5 separate regions of the Homo sapiens genome follow, and all the other regions are linked to region 1. The links are contacts of gene promoters, found by promoter capture Hi-C in blood cells and fetal thymus (Javierre and others, 2016). All regions are on one chromosome and are shown on one strand. Each heading gives the region's core, a stretch centred on a gene start or on the middle of the fragment in contact. The rest is flanking DNA. Distances are from core to core; before and after follow the strand shown. Region 1 holds the start of PCDHGA7 (protocadherin gamma subfamily A, 7). Region 2 holds the start of PCDHA5 (protocadherin alpha 5). Region 3 has its middle 16 kb from the start of PCDHA1. Region 4 holds the start of PCDHA9 (protocadherin alpha 9). Region 5 overlaps LOC105378198 (a long non-coding RNA gene).

Region 1 (2,700 bases), core at 90-2,589:
AATTTAAAAGGTAGGTTTTCTGGAATGGTGCAGGTCACCTCACCATTCTTTCCAGAATCTCTGTCTTGTAGGTAGAAAAGAGCAATGACTGTCCCAAGAGGTGTGTCTTCAGGGATTGAGCTACTTAAAGACGTCATAGTCACTTCTGGAGCATTATCATTTACATCTAAAACTGTGATCAGTACTTTTGCCTTTGTCAGACTACCAGGACCATCTTGAGCCTGAACCTCCATTTCATAGAAGGCAGTTTCTTCATAATCTAATCCTTCTAAAGTTGATATTTCTCCTGTAAGCGAGTTCAGATGAAACATCTTTGGAAGTTTAGGAGTTATTTTCCGAAAAGAATATGTCACTTCCCCATTGACTCCCTCGTCCAGGTCGATAGCATGTACCGTGAGCAGTCTTGTACCCACTGGCACATTCTCGGGGACAGTTACTTGGTACTGAGGCAGAGAGAAGACAGGCGTGTGGTCATTCACATCCACCACTGTCACCTGGATGTGGGCGGTGCTGGATCGGGGCGGGTCGCCGCCATCAGAGGCTGTGAGGACCAGGTGGTGAACCCGCTCTTCCTCCCGGTCCAGCACCCGCTCCAGCACCAGTTCCGGGTACTTAGTTTCATCGTCTCCACTTTGCACAGCCAGGGAGAAGTGGCGATTGGGGCTGAGCTGGTAACTCTGGAGGGAGTTCGTGCCCACATCTGGATCCCCAGCCTCGCTTAACGGAAACCGAACCCCAGGAGCTGTATTCTCCATTATTTTTACATTTATTTCTTCCGTCAAGAATCTTGGAACGTTGTCATTAATATCTATTATTTCCACGTCTATAGGGTAAAGATTCATTTTATCTTCCATCAGGATGTTAAAGTTTACCAGACACCGCGCACTCTGAGCGCAGATCTCTTCCCGGTCTATCCTGCCCGCAGTGACCAAGCTGCCGCTGCGCTGGTTCAGGGCGAAAAGCTGCGTCCTACCTCTGGAGATGATGCGGACTCCGCGCTCCGCCAGCTCCCGGGGCTCCAGCCCCAGGTCCTTGGCGATGTCTCCCACAAAGGACCCTTTGTCCGTCTCCTCCGACACGGAGTAGAGAATACGTCCTGCCCAGGCTTCCCAGGGGGTCCCCAGGAGGATGGAGAGCAGGAAGAATCCTCTGTAGTCCCCGCCCCTCGGCTGAGCCGCCATAGTCGTCCTGCTTCTCTTGCTTAGGCGCCGATCTCGGGAAGTGCTTCAGAATGCGGGTGTATCCGGGTGGACCCCTCTGTCTTAGGAAGGGGAGCTCAGAATCCAGCAGGATAGAGGCTTGAGTTTAGTGCAGCCTGGAAGAGGGCTTATCGCAATCTGTCGTTTCTCTGTGCTGTAAAACTCGGTGGTTTCTGTGGGATCTCTCGCACCATTTTTCCCTGGTTGGTGAACAGCGGCGCTGTGAGTCCTTACTAAGTTACTGCACCACATTGATGCACACAATACACTGATTTCATAGAAAATTGTTTCATCTTTCAAAATTTCCCTGTTAGATTTCTTTGCTCTAGATATCCCTGATAATTAAAAATCCATTTTAAGACACTGAATTAATGCAACAGTGTTCATGGACCGGTGTTTGATAATCTTAGATAATTTTTAAAAAACTGCTTTGCCTTGCAACTTTCAAGTGACTCTTTTGGGCACTGACTCACACGTTATTGCACATGGGAAAATCAGTTATTGAAGGCAAAAAGGTAAATTTTATTTAAATACATATGAAAGATTTTACTTAGAAAATATTTACATCAGTGTATATAAATTTTAATTAATTCAGTATTAATTGAACACATATGTTCTAGACACCATGATGCAAGATTCAGAAAGTCAAAATTGTTGTAAAATATATAGACCTATTTTAATAAATTTTTGATTGTATAGAACCTTAGAGACGGTCTAACACCTTCATTTTAACCGTTTAAAAAATGAGAGGGGGGGCCAGGTGCTGTTGCTCACGCCTGTAATCCCACACTTTGTGAGGCCGAGGCGGGCGGATCACCTGAGGTCGGGAGCTTGAGACCAGCCTGACCAACATGGAGAAACCCCGTCTCTACTAAAAATACAAAATTATCCGGGCGTGGTGGCGCGCGCCTGTAATCCCAGCTACTCAGGAGGCTGAGGCAGGAAAATCGCTTGAACCCGGGAGGTGGAGGTTGTGGTGAGCCGAGATCACACCATTGCACTCCAGCCTGGACAACAAGAGCAAAACTCTGCCAAAAAAAAAAAAAAAAAAAAAAGAAGAAGAAAGAAAGAAAGAAAGAAAGAGGGAATTGCCTTGCCTTGTTCCTGATTATTGATTATATAGTAGTAGAACAATGTCGGAATCCAAATATTCTCACTCCCAGTCTTGTGAGAAAAAAAGAAAGAAATCGTTGTTTGTCTTGGCTGCAGCAATCAGCTATAGAAGCAACCCATTTTCTACAGAAGGCAGAAATCTGCAGAGATCCTACTGGGCTGTGAATTCATAAGAAACTGGATAATGGATTGGCTGATTCTTTTCATTATGCAATTCAATTCAAGTCTTCATCCTAGTATGCAATTCAAATCTTCATCCTACTCTATTCTAGTGTAATTGAGAAAACAGGGATCTCTAGACAGCATTTGAGCAAAATGCAGGACTGTCCTGACAGGATCCTTAGAGGTACTCGTCTCTCCACTGATGTTGATAGAGTAAAACTAAATT
Region 2 (2,700 bases), core at 60-2,559, 560 kb after region 1:
CCCGTTGGCACCTGAGTCACGGTCAGACACGCTGATCAGAGCAATGACCGTGCTGAGTGGAGCGTCCTCTTTGACAGGCAGGAAAAGGGTGGTTATGGCCATCTCTGGGGTATTATCATTCACATCCAGGAGTTTCACTACTACTTTACAGTGTCCTGATAATGGGAATGTACTTTTATCCATGGCATCAATATTAATTTCATATGAGTTATAGTCTTCATAATCCAGTTCCCCGTTAACTTTTATTTCACCAGTATTAGAATTAATTATAAATTTGGACTTTACATCGTCAAGAACAAGATTACTAAAGAAATACACTATTTCCTTATTGATGCCCTCATCTGCATCTGAGGCGTTCAGTTTAATAACTAATGTCCCACTTGGTGCATTTTCCAACAATCTGACATTATAAATGGATTTATCAAATTCTGGGGCGTTATCATTAGCATCCAATACATTGATCAACAACTGAACTGTACCTGTTAGTTCGGGTTTTCCTCCATCAGTTGCAATCACTAATAAACGGTGTTCTTGTGTTTCTTCTCTATCTAAGGATTTCCTCAAAACCAGCTCTAAAAAGTTCGTTTCTTCTTCATTTGTTTTAACATCTAAGTCAAAATATTCGTTTGGATTTAACCTGTATCTCAATTGTGCATTTGCTCCAATATCCAAATCCGACGCGCCCTCTAGCGGAAACCGCGAATCTGGCATTCTTGACTCTAAAATGAATAATCTTTGTTCTTGTCTGGAGAACCTGGGCGGATTGTCATTGATGTCCTTCACTGCCACCTCCACATGGAAAACCTGCAGCGGCCTGTCCACGATCACCTCCAGGTGGATGCTGCACTCCGCCCTCCGCCGGCACAGCTCCTCCCGGTCGATCCGAGAATTCACAAACAAAATGCCATTCTGCAGATTTACCTCCAGAAGGTCCCCGCGGCCCTTGGACGCCACCCGGAACAGGCGCGGCACCAGCTCCGCCAGCTCCAGCCCTAGGTCCTGCGCGATGCGGCCAACGAAGGTTCCGTGTTTGGCTTCCTCCGGGATCGAGTAGTGGAGCTGGCCGCTCCCTGCCTTCCAGTAGGCAAGGAGAAGCCAGAGCAGCAGGAGCCGGGATCCCAGACTTCCTCTCCGGGAATATACCATCTCAATCTCGTTCCAATTATGAGCTTTCTATTGCATCACCACACAATGTATTTTGTAAATTCAATTCCCAATTAACTATATATTTTTTATATTATCGCCTTTCTGAGCTTCTTGGCACAGCCAAAAATGGAAGGTTCTTTTCCTTTCTGTCTAAGGAAAATCTACTCACTGTATTCCTTTGAGGCTGGGAAGGGAGAAAAACCTTCCGGTGTCCAGCGACATCATGTGGATGAAAGGGTAAGTGTTTTATTTTGTTTTGCTTTATTTAGCTTATATTCGTCAATATTTCTCAAGTATTCTCACTTTCAATGACATGATTCTTATTCTTTAAATCACTTATCTCTAGTCAAAATATATCATTAAACTCTATCTTAAAATGCGTCAATATAAGTGCGTCATTAAAATATTACAGAAAAATACATCTAAAGTCATGAAACCCCAATCCTTACTAGAGAAATTTGTGCTGGTGTATTTTATATAGGGAGGAGTTTATATATTTCCAAACTGATAAAAATAACTTTTAAGAGTTAAAGTTTTGACTTTTCTCATCTCTATTTAAACATATCTAATTAAAACTTTTGAGTTTTTTCTGTATTAGTCAATGGAATGTTTGTATGCTATCTCCGTGTTACTCATAAAACAAATTTTTATTCCAATTTCACTGTTTAATAGTGACATTTTGTTGATGTTATTTTCAAAAACAACTAAAACTATTTTAATGGCATTCTTACCTGAGTTTCTTCTCGGAGTTCTAATTTTCAAATCGATGAAAACCTATTTCTTTATCTATAACACCTATCTACTTTTTGTATTGACTCAAAAACTGTAATGGGGATATTTCAGCTTTCTAGAAATCAAAAGCATAATAGAACGACTTTGGTAAATCGTCTTTGCACTATTTTCAAATTAGAAGCATCTAGATAGCATTTCTTCAAGTTGCTATTACTGATAAAGCAATTATTAAAAATTGTAAAATACATACCTTTGTACTTACATAACAAGTCAAAATCCTAATATTGTCTATATGACATACTATTTCACAAAATGTTTAGGTTCCAGTAAATATAATCATGTTGAAAAGAATATCATTTTATTAACCAGGCTATCTTTATATTAGTTTAATTACTTTTTAATCTCCCAACTGTTTACTGGATGGTATGATTTGAACACGACCTAGAAAATTTAGTAAACTTCACTTAATAAATATGGGCAAAAGAAAATATCACCAAGTTTTCTATTGAAGAAATAGCTAACATTCTGCTTGTATATATACTCCATAAAATTCCTTAAATATTACAAAATATCCCTTACCTGTGAAGACAAGAGGGACCAAGAGATTAGCAATTCTATTGTTGGATACTTTTACATTTAAAATATAGCTTGATAAGAAAAAAGAAATTACCAGAAAATGCAAAGTCAGAGGAAATTCACTTGATTTCTGGAATTCAAACTTGTAAAGAAACAAGATATTGTCATAGAATTGTTTCTGATACAATCTTTAAAGATATATTTACCAGTTCCCTTATAAGATTTTTACTATCTCTATTATCATGA
Region 3 (2,700 bases), core at 87-2,586, 610 kb after region 1:
GCACATATCTGACAACACACTTATATCTAGTACATATAAAAGAACAGTCAAAACTCAACAGTAAAAAAGCAAACAGCCCAATTAGAACCTGGATATGAAAAGACATTTTACCAAAGAAAATATCCAAGAAGGCAAAGAAACACATGAACATATTTTCAATGCCAGTAGCTATTAGGGAGGAGCAATAAAACTACAATTGGGTATTATTAGATACCTATCAGAATGACTCAGATAAAATGTTGAAAACACCAAATGTTAGAAAAAAATTCAGAGAAACTAGATTACTCATACATTCTGGTGATAATGCAAACTGCTATAGCCACTCTGATAAAGAGTAAGGCAGTTTCTTTAAAAACAAAACAAAGCAACCAACTACCCATGGACCTCTCATATAGAACAATAATTGCATTCTTTGGCATTTATTTAATAGAAGTAAAAACTTGTGTTCACACAAAAACCTTTACACAAATGGTAATACAAATTTCATTCATAATATTCCTGAACTTAAAACATCCCAGATGTCCTTCAACAGATGAATAATAAACAGGGGAACATCTATGTAATGGAATTCTATTCCATTATATTAATACATTCAATAACCTGGATGAATTTCCAGAGAATTATGCTGAGTGAAAATGACTAATCACAAAATGTTTTATACTGTATGATTTTATTTATATATCATTCTGGAAATAACAACATTTTAAAAGTGGAAAACAGATTAGTCGTTGCAAGGGTTAAGAAAGAGGTGGGCCAGGGGTGAAAGGTAGTATGGGCATAAAAGGGCAATATAAGGAATCTCTGTAGTAATGGAAATGTTCTGGATCTTAACTGCATCAATATCAATATTTTGGATGTAATATTGATAGTCTTGGAAGATGTTACCATTGTGGAAAAGTGGGTAAAGAGTACAGAGGATTATTATTTCTTATAATTGCATGTGAGCCTACAATTATCTTAAATAATAAGTGTGTTCATCTGATTTGCTTTGCTATAAAGGACTACCTGAGGTCAGTACTATATAAAGAAAATAGGTTTATTTGGCCAATGGTTTGGCAGACTGTACAAGAAGCATGGTGGCAACATCTATTTCTGATAGCCTCTTATTCCTGAGGCCTCAGGAGCTTTTATTCATAATAGAAGGTGAAGGAGGAGGCCAGGCATGGTGGCTCATGCCTGTAACCCCAGCACTTTGGGAGGCCAAGGCGGGCAGGTCATGAGGTCAGGAGTTCGAGACCAGCCTGGCCAACATAGTGAAACCCCATCTCTACTTAAAAAAATACAAAGATTAGCCCGGTGTGGTAGCACGCGCCTGTAGTCCCCACTACTCTGGAGGCTGAGGCAGGAGAATTGCTTGAACGAGGGAAGTGGAGGTTGCAATGAGCTGACATCGCTCCACTGCACTCCAGCCTGGGCGACAGAGTGAGACTCTGTCTCAAAAAAAAAAAAAAAAGGGAGAGAGAAGGTGAAAGGGGAGCAGGCATATCACATGGCAAGAGAGGTGCCAGGCTCCTGTAAATAAGTAGCTATCATGTGAACTAATAAAGTGAGAATTCATTTATTACCACAGGGAGGGCACCAAGCCATTCATGAGGGATCCACCTCCATGACCAAAATACCTCCCACTAGGCTCACCTCCAAAATTGGAGATCACATTTTAACATCAGATTTGGAGGATACAAATATCCAAACCATATCAACAAGTTTAATTATAAAATCAGAAGCGAAGACAGCAAAATCATGAACAAGGAGGCTCCGAACTTTTGTCCCCCAACAGAAACATCAACAAAACAAAAAACAGTCAAAGGTCTACAACAACCAAGTAAACGCCCAATCAAGAAAAAAAAATCTATGAACATATTTAGACTGTAAGAAAAAAAAAATCTAGCCAGGAGCTGTGGCCCATGCCTGTAATCCCAGCAATTTGGGAGGCCAAGGTAGGAGGTTTGCTTGGGCCAGGAGTTTGAGACTAGCCTGGGTAGTCAGACTCCATCTCTACCAAAAAATAAAAATGAAAACAGCCTGGAAAACAGAGAAAGACCCTGTCTCAGAAAGAAACATTTGGTGATGATTTTACTCTTCCTTGCCTGACCTTCTTCCTGGCACAATATCAAACATGGTCTTGAATTGGTGACAGCACAGTTCCCAGTTCCTTCCCTAGAACCAAAGGGTGAAGAGCAGACTTCATTTACAATTTTTTTTGTTTGTCTCTTCTAATCTGTCTAGGGAAACAACTGAAGGACTGAAGCAAAGTGTTTGATTGTTTGAAGGTTAAAGAATTTGCAGGTGGCTATAATTTTAATGTTTGTCCCCTCCAGGCTTCATGTTGAAATTTGATCCCCATTGTGGCAATGTTAGGAGGTAGGACCTAGTGGGAAGCATTTGGTTCATGAAGGTGGATACCTCATGAATAGATTAATACCTTCCCTGCTGGGTTAGTGAGTTTATGCTCTAAATAGTTCCTACGAGAGCTGGTAGTTAAAAAGAACCTGGCATGCACACATAAACATCTGCCTCCTCTCTTATCATTTGATCTCTTTGCACACTGCCTAACCTTCCACATTCCACCATGATATGTGGCAGCCTGAGACCCTCAGATGGAAATATGCAATCTTGAACTTTCCAGTCACCAGAACCATGAGACTAATCATTTCTTTATAAACTATGTGGTCCCACTAGACTGTTACAGCATTACTAAAC
Region 4 (2,700 bases), core at 10-2,509, 530 kb after region 1:
TTGGCATCTGCGTCTAGGTCGATCACACTAATCAGGGCAATAACTGTCCCCAGTTGTGCGTCCTCTTTTACAGGAACCGAGAGCGTTTTGATAGTCAACTGTGGAGCATTGTCATTTACATCCACAACTTCCACAAGAAGTGTACAATGACCAGCCAGGGGTGGGAAGCCTTTATCGACAGCCTCGACTGGGATCTTGTGTGCTCTACTTTCTTCAAAATCCATATGTCCTATCACTGTGATTGCCCCACTTAAGGGGTCCATGTGGAACTTGGATTTTATATCTGGAGAAACATCACTGGAGAAGGAGTAAATAATATCCCCATTCAAGCCTTCGTCTAAATCTGAGGCATTGGGGTGAATCACCAGCGTTCCGATAGAAACGTTTTCTGGTAATTTCACCGTATACAGGGTTCTGTCGAACACTGGGGCATTGTCATTGTTGTCCAGTACCGTGATGAGTAATTGAACGGTGCCAGTCAGCTCGGGTTTGCCTCCATCGGTGGCCGTGAGCAATAAATGAAGCTCCGGAGTTTCTTCTCTGTCTAAAAGTTTCCGTAATACAAGTCCAAGAGGTTTTACCTGCTGGTTGCTGGTTGGCACGTCCAGGAAGAAATACTCATTGGGGCTCAGTCTGTAAGTGAGCAGGGCGTTCTCCCCGATATCTGCATCGGACGCGCCCTCTAGTGGAAACCGAGAGTCAAGCGGCCTGGATTCCGCGATGAACAGATTCTTTTGTGTCGCTGGGAACACTGGAGGGTTGTCGTTAATGTCCTTCACCTCCACGTCCACATGGAAAACCTGCAGCGGCCTGTCTACGATCACCTCCAGGTGGATGCTGCACTCCGCGCTCCGCCCGCACAGCTCCTCGCGGTCGATCCGAGAATTCACAAACAAAATGCCATTCTGCAGATTTACCTCCAGAAGGTCCCCGCGGCCTTTGGAATCCAACTGGAACAGGCGCGGCACCAGCTCCGCCAGCTCCAGCCCCAGGTCCTGCGCGATGCGGCCCACGAAGGTGCCGTGTTCGGCTTCCTCCGGGACGGAGTAGTGGAGCTGGCCGCTCCCCACCACCCACATTGCGAGGATCAGAAGCGAGAGCAGTAGAGGCTGACCCTCTGGATCTCCTCGACTTGAGTATAACATTTCAAATACTCAGTCTTCTTCTAATTAGTGAAAATTGCCTCCAAATTAGAAGAAATCATCTGATTTCGTCAGTCCCATTCTGCTGTGTTCGCCATCGTTCAGCACAGAGAGAGTGAAAAAGAATTGAGCCTCTTTCCCATGGGAAAAGGGCTGTATTTGTCTGGATTCAGAGAGAACATCGCGGCAAAGAGTGACATCACGTGGCCCAAAGTGTAAGTACATATTTCATGAATAAAAATTTCACAGTTATTCTGCAAAACTTATTTCATTTTCTTAATTTTTTCTTAAGTAATGATTGTTGAAACAGAAGATCCCGTTTCTCTTGCTGGAGCCTTCTTAGCAGACTGACTGCCTCTAAAAGTTTTGTATGACCTTGATTGTGGTTTTCTTATCCCTGAGAAAACTCTCCACTTAAGTTTTAAATAACGACAGAAATGAAGTAACAATTAAAATGATTCCATTGAGCAATCACGAATTTTAAATTACAAAATTCTTTTGTTCTGGAATTCAGAATCTCCCATATGGCTCGAAATAGGATTCTAGTGTAAGAGAAATCCAGGAGTTGCAATCTCTAGTGAATATAGGAGCCCAGAAATCTACTGATGAAAAAGAAACTTAGTCATGTCTGGTAAAAGGAATCAACAAAAAGTAGCAACCAACTGAGGTAGTTTTCTTGAGTAATTCTATGAATTGAAAAGGTATAAAATATTGCAAGAAAAGCGAGAATTGACTTTAAGGTCTTGTGTTGCGTGGGGAGAAAATATATTTTTCTCTTTTGTAGCATTTATACAATCTGTTTCCAGAAATGTGTTGTTTTGATTCTTTCCAAGCTTTATAATCTATGAATAATCTCTTCTTTGTAGTCTCCAATATAGTTTGTGTAATGTTATTACAATATGTTTTAATTTCATTATTGCTCATCCTTAGTACTCGGGGCAATTTCTGTTTTTAAAGCTATGCTTGAGATTCTTTTCCTGACTAAGTTCTACAAAGTTTTGTTGTGAGTTTTACTATCTTATTCCAACGTCCAAGTCGATTAATTAAATCTAGATTTTAGTGTATCTCAAGTCTAAAGGCAAAACCGTGAGTGTTTATTGTGCCATTAATGTTTTTGCATATTTATCTTTTATTTCGTATTTCTACTGATAACAGCCTAAGAGGTGCATTTAACAATTGCTTCTGTCCTTGATTACTGCAGGAGCTTCTGAGTTTGTCTTCCCGTTCAACCTTCTTTCAAAAGTCGTGATTTATTTTGCTCAAGGTAGTTAAATAGCTCCCAATTAATTCTAAAGAGTGGCCAAATTCCTTAATCACTCATGGCCCTTTAGTTTATTACTCAGAAATCAAGAGATCTTCTTACATTGGTTTTCCTGCTTTCATTCTCTGCAGACTGTGTGTTTTAACCAAAGTGGACTTTTCTACTTGTCATATTGATGCTTTCTGTGTCTTCAACTTTCCTTATGTTTTCTCTTTCCAAGAAATGTCTATCATTCTCAATATTCTCCCGGGGGGAACTTACTTATTTTAAAACCACTGAAACACACCATGCCCCTTC
Region 5 (2,700 bases), core at 93-2,592, 640 kb after region 1:
CCCCTTTTGTATTGGTGCTGTCCTGTGGGAGAGCTGGAAATTCTGCTTATTTCCTTTTGTGTCTATGTAAGTAATAAACTGTCTGAATCAAACAAGGACTGCTGTTTCTTTACTAATCAAAGCTGCTAGGATTTGCCTGAGAATGGGTTCTTATTTTTCCTTGAAGTTCTGTTTCAAAATAGTTTCTTTTTCAAACCTTGTCAACTTGTCTTGGCAACCAGGGATTTGGTTCATATCTGGGAGAGATGACAGTAGTGAGAAGCTGCTCAGAGGAACTGTGGGGATCTGGAAATTTGGTGAAGAGCAGATTTACTCATGGAGTAGGTCTCAAAAGACTCTTACCAAGGCTAACCTCCAGAGTTTCTGTCCCAACCTTAAACCTCTTCAGCTCCTGACCCAGCCTAGTCTTCTCAGGAATCCATGCCGTTTTAGACCCCTCCTTGAAAAAGGGCTCTCTCCCATCTCCAAGAAAATGATAAGCTTGGTGGGGACATACATAGAGGACTAAAGAGGGTCCATGGACATCAAACCTGCCCCCAAAACACAGACAGGAAGAAGCATGCAAATATATCACTGAGATAATGCAGAAAGTAGATTGAATTTGGAGTTCCTTGACAGATAAGTGTCATGAGTTGGTATACCCTGGGCAGTAGGGTCAGCCTAGGCCTGAATGGTTCAAGAACGATGCTGAGTTTTAAGTTTCCTTCTACCCACCACAACTTCCAGACCAGGACACACAAACTTGGGAAGCCCCCATTTGAGGATGCACACCACTGAGAGAAACCCATGTCTTCCTTTCCCTAAAAACTGTTCCCCCAGCTGTGTCTAGGCTCACTCTCCCTCCTCCCACTCAGTGGCTACCTGCCACAAGTCTTGGACCAGCCTCAGTGCTTCCCAGATGACCAAACCGGGGTCATTTTAGCTCAAATCAACTTTCACAGCCAGTACATGAGTCAGACCCATGAAATCCTCCCAAACTGCCAAATGCCAGCCTTGGGTCTTTAAAGCTACCAGAGCTTCATTGTTACCTGGTTACTAGGTAATAACCCACAACAATTACTCCTCTCTGGATCTGGGCCTAAACATTCTGGTATCTTATAGCTCTTTTGTATTAATACTTTCTCTGATTACCTGAAATGATATACCACATAGAAAACTGTACTAAGAGTTATTGAAGAATGTGCAAAAAATTAACAAGAGGTCCAAGGAAAACTAAGCACATGAAGAAAAGTCAAGCATTAACTTCAGGAAAAGTAGAAAGAAGAAAAGGAGACAATCATGGTATATGACCATGTTCTGCTGGGAATTATATTTTGCAAAGGCATAAAAATGTTAACATGAATATTCATCTAACAAAGAATTGTTAGGGCCAGGCACAGTGGCTCACACCTATAATCCCAACACTTTGGGAGGCCGAGGTAGGAGGATGGCTTGAGCCCAGGAGTTCGAGATCATCCCATGCAACACAGTGAGACCTCATCGCGACTAAAAATAAAAAATTAGCTGGGCGTGTGGTATGTGCCTGTGGTCCCAGATTCTTGAGAGGTTGAGGCAGGAGGATCGCTTGAGCCCAGGAGGTGGAAGCTGCAGTGAGCCATGATCGCACCACTGCATTCCAGCCTGGGTGAGAGAGCAAGAGCCTGTCTCAATAAAAGAAAAAGAAAGAAAAGAAAAATTAAGTCATTTCAATCATATACAAACTATCCTAATTAATAAGAAGGAACACTTCCTAAATGATTTTCTAATGCTAAAATAACCTGATAGTGAATCCTATTGTAAAAAATACACACAAAAAAGGAAAAGCCCAGTCTAATGTCATTAATGTAAATAAATGAAAAAAAACCCATACTAATTATTAGAAAATTAAATCCAGTAGTACATAAAAAAGAATAATACAGCATAAGTAGAATTTCTCCAAGATATGAGGTTGACTTAACATTATAAAAGTAATTAGTATATATGCAAAGTTAATGAACTAAAGGGAAAATCATGATTATCTATGTACATGCAGAAAAATTACTTAATAAAATTCAACAACCTTTCATGATTTTAAAATAATCTTAATTAATCTTAAGATTTTTAGCAGATATTAGTTGTATCCTTAGGCATATAAGAGAATATTTGTAACTTGGTAAGGGTGTCCAGGGGAAAAAAAAAAAGCTAAAGCAAACATCATACTTAATGGTGAAATGATTAAAGCTTTCCCTTTGAAATCCAGAACAAGACAGGGATGTCTGCTATCATCACTTTAATCATCCTGTCGTCATTGTTCCAAAGGGCCTAACCAGTGTATACAACAAGAGAAAAATATAAAGGTCTGAGGTGTTCATATGGCATTCTCCATGGTTAGAAAAAGAAGGGGAAAAGTATAAGGAGGTTATTCCGTAGGATTTTGGGGAACAGGTGGTATTTGGTTACGTGAGTAAGTTCTTTAGTGGTGATTTGTGAGATATTGGTGTACCCGTCACCAGAGCAGTATACATTGAACTCAATTTGTAGTCTTTTATCCCTCACCCACTTCCCACCCTACACCCCTGAGTCCCCAAAGTGCACTGTATCATTCTTATGCCTTTGCAGCCTCATAGCTTAGCTCCCACTTATGAGTGAGAAGATACACCTTCTTATATGAAACTTTTTTATTTAGAGTTAAAACTCTGTATGTTTAGAGTTAATACGAGTATAAAACTCTCCTTATTTAGA

What was found. The method cuts DNA at HindIII sites, captures the fragments that hold promoters and counts their contacts. A CHiCAGO score of 5 or more calls a contact.
Region 2: the fragment with the promoter of PCDHA5 here is called in contact with the fragment with the promoter of PCDHGA7 in region 1 in 6 of 17 cell types (M1 macrophages, M0 macrophages, M2 macrophages and 3 more); the score reaches 10.8 in M1 macrophages.
Region 3: a contact is called between a fragment that was not itself captured here and the fragment with the promoter of PCDHGA7 in region 1, in 4 of 17 cell types (M1 macrophages, M0 macrophages, erythroblasts and 1 more). The highest score is 13.7, in M1 macrophages.
Region 4: a contact is called between the fragment with the promoter of PCDHA9 here and the fragment with the promoter of PCDHGA7 in region 1, in 7 of 17 cell types (M1 macrophages, fetal thymus, M0 macrophages and 4 more). The highest score is 11.0, in M1 macrophages.
Region 5: a fragment that was not itself captured here is called in contact with the fragment with the promoter of PCDHGA7 in region 1 in 3 of 17 cell types (M1 macrophages, M0 macrophages and M2 macrophages); the score reaches 9.5 in M1 macrophages.

The regions. Positions count from the first base shown.
Region 1 is chr5:141,381,381-141,384,080 of GRCh38, reverse strand. PCDHGA7 (protocadherin gamma subfamily A, 7) reads right to left here and starts at 1,339. Exons shown (of 4, transcript NM_018920.4): 1 at 1-1,339. The coding sequence starts at 1,181. The region is part of intron 1 of PCDHGA1 (protocadherin gamma subfamily A, 1); the gene reads right to left. All of the region lies in intron 1 of PCDHGA2 (protocadherin gamma subfamily A, 2), which reads right to left. All of the region lies in intron 1 of PCDHGA3 (protocadherin gamma subfamily A, 3), which reads right to left. It also overlaps PCDHGB1, PCDHGA4, PCDHGB2, PCDHGA5, PCDHGB3 and PCDHGA6, and 1 more gene. The HindIII fragment of the contact is 6,225 bases long and covers 1-2,700 here.
Region 2 is chr5:140,820,222-140,822,921 of GRCh38, reverse strand. PCDHA5 (protocadherin alpha 5) reads right to left here and starts at 1,309. Exons shown (of 4, transcript NM_018908.3): 1 at 1-1,309. The coding sequence starts at 1,146. The region is part of intron 1 of PCDHA1 (protocadherin alpha 1); the gene reads right to left. All of the region lies in intron 1 of PCDHA2 (protocadherin alpha 2), which reads right to left. The region is part of intron 1 of PCDHA3 (protocadherin alpha 3); the gene reads right to left. It also overlaps PCDHA4 and PCDHA@. The HindIII fragment of the contact is 13,774 bases long and covers 1-2,700 here.
Region 3 is chr5:140,768,947-140,771,646 of GRCh38, reverse strand. No RefSeq gene overlaps it. Among named protein-coding and RNA genes, the nearest start is that of PCDHA1, 16 kb to the left of the region's middle. The HindIII fragment of the contact is 3,232 bases long and covers 1-2,700 here.
Region 4 is chr5:140,846,941-140,849,640 of GRCh38, reverse strand. PCDHA9 (protocadherin alpha 9) reads right to left here and starts at 1,259. Exons shown (of 4, transcript NM_031857.2): 1 at 1-1,259. The coding sequence starts at 1,145. The region is part of intron 1 of PCDHA1 (protocadherin alpha 1); the gene reads right to left. The region is part of intron 1 of PCDHA2 (protocadherin alpha 2); the gene reads right to left. All of the region lies in intron 1 of PCDHA3 (protocadherin alpha 3), which reads right to left. It also overlaps PCDHA4, PCDHA5, PCDHA6, PCDHA7, PCDHA8 and PCDHA@. The HindIII fragment of the contact is 21,410 bases long and covers 1-1,977 here.
Region 5 is chr5:140,739,351-140,742,050 of GRCh38, reverse strand. All of the region lies in intron 3 of LOC105378198 (a long non-coding RNA gene), which reads right to left. Among named protein-coding and RNA genes, the nearest start is that of ZMAT2, 40 kb to the right of the region's middle. The HindIII fragment of the contact is 1,719 bases long and covers 483-2,201 here.